2 separate regions of the Homo sapiens genome follow, and region 1 is linked to region 2. The links are contacts of gene promoters, found by promoter capture Hi-C in blood cells and fetal thymus (Javierre and others, 2016). All regions are on one chromosome and are shown on one strand. The core of a region is centred on a gene start or on the middle of the fragment in contact, and the rest is flanking DNA. Distances in the headings are between cores, read along the strand shown. Region 1 has its middle 41 kb from the start of NFAM1. Region 2 holds the start of WBP2NL (WBP2 N-terminal like).

Region 1 (3,636 bases), core at 453-2,952, 470 kb after region 2:
TCCTGGGTTCAAGCGATTCTCGTGCCTCAGCCTCCCGAGTAGCTGGGATTACAGGTGTGTGCCACCATGCCAGGCTCTTTTTTTTTTTTTTCTTTTTGGTATTTTTAGTAGAGACAGGGTTTCACTATGTTGGCCAGACTGGCCTCGAACTCCTGACCTCAAATGACCTGCCCACCTCAGCCTCCCAAAGTGCTGGGATTACAGGCATGAGCCACCGCACCTGGCCAGATACTATCTTAGATGTATTAATATTTTTTCCTTCTCTTATTCAGTCAGAAGCTTCTGTTGGCCTCAAGGATAATTATGATTTTCATAGTAGGTAGGTGATGAGAAAGAAAGACGCTTTCACTTTTAAGTATTAAGACTGACTCCAAGTGCATGTGATTCGGTAGTCTTGAAACTGAGCTTTCAGAGAAAAAAGAGATTTTCTAAATTCCAAAGGCTCTGCTTTAAGACGTAAATAACAGAATCCTGGACTTGGATTATAAGCAGTGCACAGGGTCTGAAGGTGTGACTTAGGGAAGTTCCCATCAGTAGGAAGACACAGGAGATCAGATGTCAGCGTCCTGATTCCCTCCTCGGGGTTAACACAGTGGTAGCAAGGCCTGCGGTGAGCATGGCAGCAGAACGACAGGGGCTGCTCAGGCATGCTTTGGAAATGGCCAGGAAAGGGTCTAGGACAGTGGCCTGGAAGGCAGCCTCACAGATCTAGTGTGAGGCTACACCCAGCCTACACTCTCTAGTGTGGAGTGGGAAAAGCAGCCCAGGCCCTGATGAATCAAAAGACTGAGATTGGGGTACAGAGGCCAGGCTGGGAGCCCTGGGCTGGAGGTTGAGAATAATGCATGATGGTATCGCCTCGTGGACACCAGGACGGAAGGTCCAGGAACCGCCCTGGCCATGGCTGAGAGGCAGGAGCCAGGAGGGTGCCCTAGTTACCCCGCACCCTAGCAGCATCTCAGAAAGGAGCAGGGAGAGACACTTGATCGGAACTTGAACCTGAACTTGAACTTTAATCTTGACGCGTTAATGAGGAAGGGAGTTTTGGAAGACTGAAGAGGCTGAGTTAGCTCTGATGAGCATGTTCCTGGTGTTATTTCCTTTCTCTCTTTTGCCGTGAGCAAGAGTGGGGACTTGCGAGCTCAAGGGAATCAGTTATAGACCATTTTTAGTTCTATTTCTGTGCACATCTGCCTGCATACAGCATAAAGATTTTTACCCTGGTTGAGGCGTGCACGGGATGCTGGGATTACAGGCGTGAGCCACCGTACCCACCTGACCCTAAATTATTTTTGGTTCCTCCAATCCAACTTTCTTCCATAGAATACTAAGAATGGGAATTGCTCTGTTCCTAAGGCACTATAAGCTGAAACTAAATGAATTTTAAGGGATGAGTCTTGTGTGTGATCTATGGACCATATAGAAAGTTCACTGGACTGCCTCATGCCATGAGCAGAGACAGTCTAACTGTAAACCAGGACAAGCAGTTGATGGCTTCATGCTGTGGGTGGCTTTTCCCAAGACAACAGAACAAGAGTCCCCATCATGAGCCTCTTGTCCCTCTTAATTCTTCCCTGCTTATGCCAATTTTTTCCACTTGGCAGGATAATGATGCAACTGAAACTTCCCAATCAGTAGCTTCTGCTGGTAACTTGACAGAACCTGACCTAAGAGATCCTTTAGGCCACCTAGTGGGTAACTTTGGCAACATCCCTAATAGAACTGTTGTTCACTCGGCTTTAATGCATCCCAGTTGTGGGATACTAGATGATGAATTTGCTCTATATTATTTATTGGTTGGATAAGGAAATGTCTGTGCTATTGCTAATACTACATGCCACACCTGGATAAATTTCTTTGGGGAAGTTGAGACCCAAATACACAAAATAAGAAAACAAGTCACTTGGTTACAACAGGTCTCATCTAATTCTCCATGGTCATTCGATTTATTCAATGTATTCCCTTTAAGTCTAGGTTCATAGCTCAAAACCATTATGCAAACTAGGGTTACCATTTTTATTTATTTATTTATTATTTATTTATTTATTTATTTATTTATTTATTTATTTATTTTTGAGACAGAGTTGCGTGCTGTCACCCAGACTGGAGTGTAGTGACACGATCTCAGCTCACTGCAACCTCCGCCTCCTGGGTGTGAATCCTCCTGCCTCAGCCTCCCGAGAAGCTGGGACTACAGGCATGCACCACCACGTCCAGCTAATTTTTTTTTTTTTTTTGAGCCGGAGTCTTGCTCTATCACCCAGGCTGGAGTGCAGTGGCTATATCTCGGCTCACTGCAAGCTCTGCCTCCTGGGTTCACGCCATTCTCCTGCCTCAGCCTCCCGAGTAGCTGGGACTACAGGTGCCTGCCACCATGCCCAGCTAATTTTTTGTATTTTTTTTTTTTTTAGTGGAGATGGGGTTTCACCGTGTTAGCCAGGATGGTCTTGATCTCCTAACCTCGTGATCTGCCCTCCTCAGCCTCCCAAAGTGCTGGGATTACAGGCGTGAGCCACCGCGCCCAGCCACGTCCAGCTAATTTTTTGTAGAGACAGGATTTCACCATGTTGCCCAGGCTGGTCTCAAACTCCTGGGCTCAAGAGATCCACCCACTTCAGACTCCCAAAGTGCTGGGATTACAGGTGTGAGCCACTGCACCTGGCTATCCCTTCTCTTAGAAGGATGAATCAGTCTATTCAGTAAATTTAAAAGGTGACTGGGGCTGGGCGTGGTGGTTCACATCTGTAATTCCAGCACTGTGGGAGGCCGAGGCAGGTGGATCACCTGAGGTCAGGAGTTCGAGACCAGTATGACCAACACGGTGAAACCCCATCTCTACTAATAATACAAAAATTAGCCAGGTGTGGTGGTGCACAACTGTAATCCCAGCTACTCTGGAGGCTGACGCAGGAGAATCACTTGAACCCAGGAAGTGGAGGTTGCAGTGAGCCGAGATCGCACCAGTCACTCCAATAGAGTGAGACTCTGTCTCAAAAAAAAAAAGAAAAAGTGACCTTATGAATGGGTAACAATTGCCTGTGTCTTACAGCCAGATCTCAAACAACTTCGTGAACAAATCTACAAGAATCACACATTGTTAAAACACAGCCATCTCACACACAGAATCAAGCTTGTGTTTGACAATGGCATGGAAATCACACTAATTATGATGACCTAGGCTGGGAGAGAAAACCAGTGCACCTGCACTATCTGATCCCAGCCTCCCTCTGAGCCTCACCTGGGGTCACTCTTCCCCTTAGTGTGCTGTAGCCACTCTAGATCCCACCTGCTCCTAAACACACCCATCTCTTCTCTGCCCCGGGGCCTTTGCACGTGGCACTCCCTCTGCCTGAGAAGCTGCCACTTGATGTTGTCAGCTCCTTCTTATGCTTCAGATCTTCCTTTCAATGCCAGCTACTCACAGAAGCCCTCCCTGACCACCCTGTTCAAAGTAGCATCCTCACTGTGGTAGCAGGATGATGCCTCCCCCAAGATGTCCATGTCCTAATCCCTGGTACCTGTGAATATGTTATGTTACGTGGCAAGAGGGAATGAAGGTTGAAGATGAAATGAAGTTTGCTAATTAGCTGACTTTGTTTTATTATATTTTAGTTTTTTTGTGAAGGAGTCTCACTC
Region 2 (3,257 bases), core at 433-2,932:
CCTCTTTAGGCCAGTTGCATCCTCCATTTATCCAAACCACTCCTCTCCTCCCAGTGGAGTGGGGTTCTGCCAGTACAGCCCTACTGCATCATCTGCGTCAGCCGGTCCTAGCCCATCTGCAGGGTGAAAGAACTCATCAAGAGCTCCTTCTGCCCTTGTAAGCCCATCCCAGCTACTTGTAACCATCTCTAAGGGCAATGGCATTGCTCCCTACCCATTCATCTGCATGAGCTACTCTTGGCTTCCTTAAAGGGTCAAGAAAGCAATTTTTCTGCTTACTAGATTCATTGAGATCAGCTGTGTGAGCCCCAAAGTGGGACAAGGGTGTCTCCTTCATTACTTAAAGATATTCATGAGGGTGGGTCACTACAGATGTTGGGGAGCAAGGGCTAGGATCACTTTTTAAAAAATCACCACTTGTGGCTGTCCCAGAGTGCGGTTGTACATCCTCCCCACCTCATAACGCAGCCACTGAGGAAGAGTGGTTTTCCTAAGAAGACATTGCTGGAGTTGACTTTCTTCTGTCCAAACAAACAAACAAAAACTAAACACACACACAAACCCCCAGAAACCCACAATATGTACACGCTAAGGAAAAACTAGCACCCTTCTGTCCACTCAGCAATAAGAGGGATCTCTTCCCACCTACCCTACCTACTCCTACCCCCAACCCCCTTCCCCATTAATGTGAGTAATGAATTAGCCTGACCACAGGTGGTCACTGTAGGCTAATGGAAAATACCCAAGGGAGGGCAAAGCCCCCCATCAGATGCATGAATGTTTGCGAATGTTGACTGCCACTGCCCCACACACTGTGTCTTTATAGAATTCCCCTTTGCCCACCCTCTTCCTGTCTCCACCTGGACACAACTTGCTCAAAGGCTGGTGACTTGTGGGCCATTCATCTACAACCAAGTCCTGATGGAGCAAGAGGCCCACGCCTAGGGGATGCAAGAACAACCCGTTTCTTAAATGTTACCAGTCCCAGCCAATCTTACGGTGACATTACAGTTAAATTTCCCAATTGAAAACAAGCAAACAGACACTCAAACTGGTCCTGTAATTGTTGCTAGACTTTATGTGTTGTACAACTAAACATTGCTGTTTGAACAGTAACTGCCTGGCCTGTCTTATTTGTGCTCCTTGACCAAATCAGCCATTATGTCATCTCACCCATGTGTGGAGGGTGAGACTCTCTTGGTAAGAAATAGCCACAGATATTAGAGATGAAAACACTTTGTGAGGTCAGTTCATCTTCAGTTGGCGTCAGGTCGGGCCTCAGTCATTATTTTCTAGTGTTTCATAACCAAAGTGAGTAATGGATGGGAGGTTGAGGTGGGAAGATGGCTTGAGCATGGGAGGTTGGAGGTGCAGTGAGCTGAGATCATTCCTGACAGGACCAACCCAAGTCCATACCTAAAGGCAGGGGGCTAAGGGGGCAGGTGAGGTCGGGAGGCCACTCACCTATCACTCACCCCTTCGCGCTCGAGCCAATTCTCAGGGCCCGCCTCTTTCTCCCCTTTCTCGGCGGGGGCCTCTACCCTGACTCCGCCCCGCTCCCCGGGCACTGCCCCACCACGTGACCCGGTCTCGCTCCTCCTCCTCCTCCTCCTTACGTCATAATCTCCGCCCTCCCCTTCAGAACCGCGCCCCACAGCTCGGCGCAGGTCCCGCCCCTTTCCATCTACGGGGCGGCAGGAGGCCCGAAGCAAGATGGCGGTGAATCAGAGCCACACCGAGAACCGCCGCGGAGCCCTCATCCCTAACGGTGAAAGGTGCCTGAGGGGAAGCACGGCGTGCTGTCGGAGGAGAGGAGACGAATGAGATAGACATGGCGGCTCGCAAACTCTCAGCGAGTCAGGGACTTTGCCGCCTTTTTTGGGCGCGGCGCTCTTAGCTCCGCCCCCGACCTTTGGGAGCGCGCGCCCCTCACTGGTGTTCCGGCATGTGGAGGTGGCGGAGGCCGGAACGCGTGGCCTCGCGCGTTTGAGGGGTGGGGGTGGGAATGCGCCTTTTCAAGGCGCGGGGCCCAGACGCATGTCTCCTCAGGGCGGGGCGGGGAGGGGGTGCGAGACGCGTGTGTCCTTCGAAGAGAGGCCGGAGCTGACCGGCGGTTGTGAGCAGCCGGGGGCCTTCGGTGGCAGCGTGGCTGCCCTTGGGTGCCTGCGACTTTGTTGGATGAGGACAGGTACTGGGTGTGTATCTCCTCCTACTTCCACGAACAAGGTGTCGCTCTTTGGTAAGAGGGATGAGGAGGTCGAGTGTGGATCATTCTGGAAAGATCTCAAACTGTTGTGGGGCTTCTCCTTGGACCTGGAAACTTTCTAAAGCCATGTTTCCTCCTTGCTCCAACCAGGGAGATGTCTGCTTTTAAAAACAAAATTGAAAAAATTGAGGCCAGGTGCAGTGGCTCATGCCTCTTATCCCAACAGTTTGGGAAGCTGAGGTGGCCCAGGAGTTTGAGACAAGACTGGGCAACATAGTGAGACCCCATCTCTACAAAAAGTAGAAAATTAGTGGGCCATGGTGGTGTGCACCCATAATCCCAGCTGCTTGGGAGGCGATGGTAAGAGGATTGCTTGAACCCAGGAGTTTGGGCTGCAGTGAGCTCAGATTGTACCACTGCACTCCAGCCTGGGTAACAGAGCCAGATCCTGTCTTAAAATAAAAGATGGGACTGAACAGATGCCTGGGCACAACAAAGCACTGTTGGTCGCAGGAAGCTGTGGGGCTTACACCAGTTGCTTTGCTCCTTGCGGTGCCTGCTGCTGGCCCCTGAGCTCTCTACTGGAGCAGACTCAGCCAGAGGGGTGCCCATCTCCACCTTCAAGCACACTTGTTCACTAAGGCCTGACTCCACTGCGCTCACCTCTTTACCCCACACGCCCCCTTTCCCGTTTCCTACACTCAAACTCAGTCTCCCCCGCTGTGCAGTTCTAAATTGCGCTCCTTTCTGGGCTCTGACTTGCCCTCAATTTCCTTTTCTCCCAACCAGCATTGAAACTCAAGCTGGATGATGTGCTTGGGGCCAGCACACTCAGGTCAGTTTGAATGTAGTTGTCAGGAAGATCGAAGTAGACGTTACCAAATGCTGATATCCAGGTCTTTCTTCTATCTTTCCTTCCTCCAGAAAGTTTTCTTGACAGATTTATATGGGCCTTAGAGGTTGTATGTTCTCACCTGCTTCCTACGTACCTCTGCTGCTTTGTTCCATTTTGTGGTAGATGATTGCTCACCACTCTGACAGTGGTGTCCCC

The links. The method cuts DNA at HindIII sites, captures the fragments that hold promoters and counts their contacts. A CHiCAGO score of 5 or more calls a contact.
Region 1: a fragment that was not itself captured here is called in contact with the fragment with the promoter of WBP2NL in region 2 in 2 of 17 cell types (endothelial precursors and total B cells); the score reaches 5.7 in endothelial precursors.

The regions. Positions count from the first base shown.
Region 1 is chr22:42,472,022-42,475,657 of GRCh38, forward strand. No RefSeq gene overlaps it. Among named protein-coding and RNA genes, the nearest start is that of NFAM1, 41 kb to the left of the region's middle. The HindIII fragment of the contact is 2,851 bases long and covers 278-3,128 here.
Region 2 is chr22:41,997,106-42,000,362 of GRCh38, forward strand. It overlaps WBP2NL (WBP2 N-terminal like), which reads left to right and starts at 1,683. Exons shown (of 6, transcript NM_152613.3): 1 at 1,683-1,775. The coding sequence starts at 1,714. It overlaps SEPTIN3 (septin 3), which reads left to right. Exons shown (of 12, transcript NM_001363845.2): 12 at 1-1,116. RefSeq lists enhancers at 1,233-1,749, 1,750-2,264 and a silencer at 1,576-1,635. The HindIII fragment of the contact is 12,096 bases long and covers 1-3,257 here.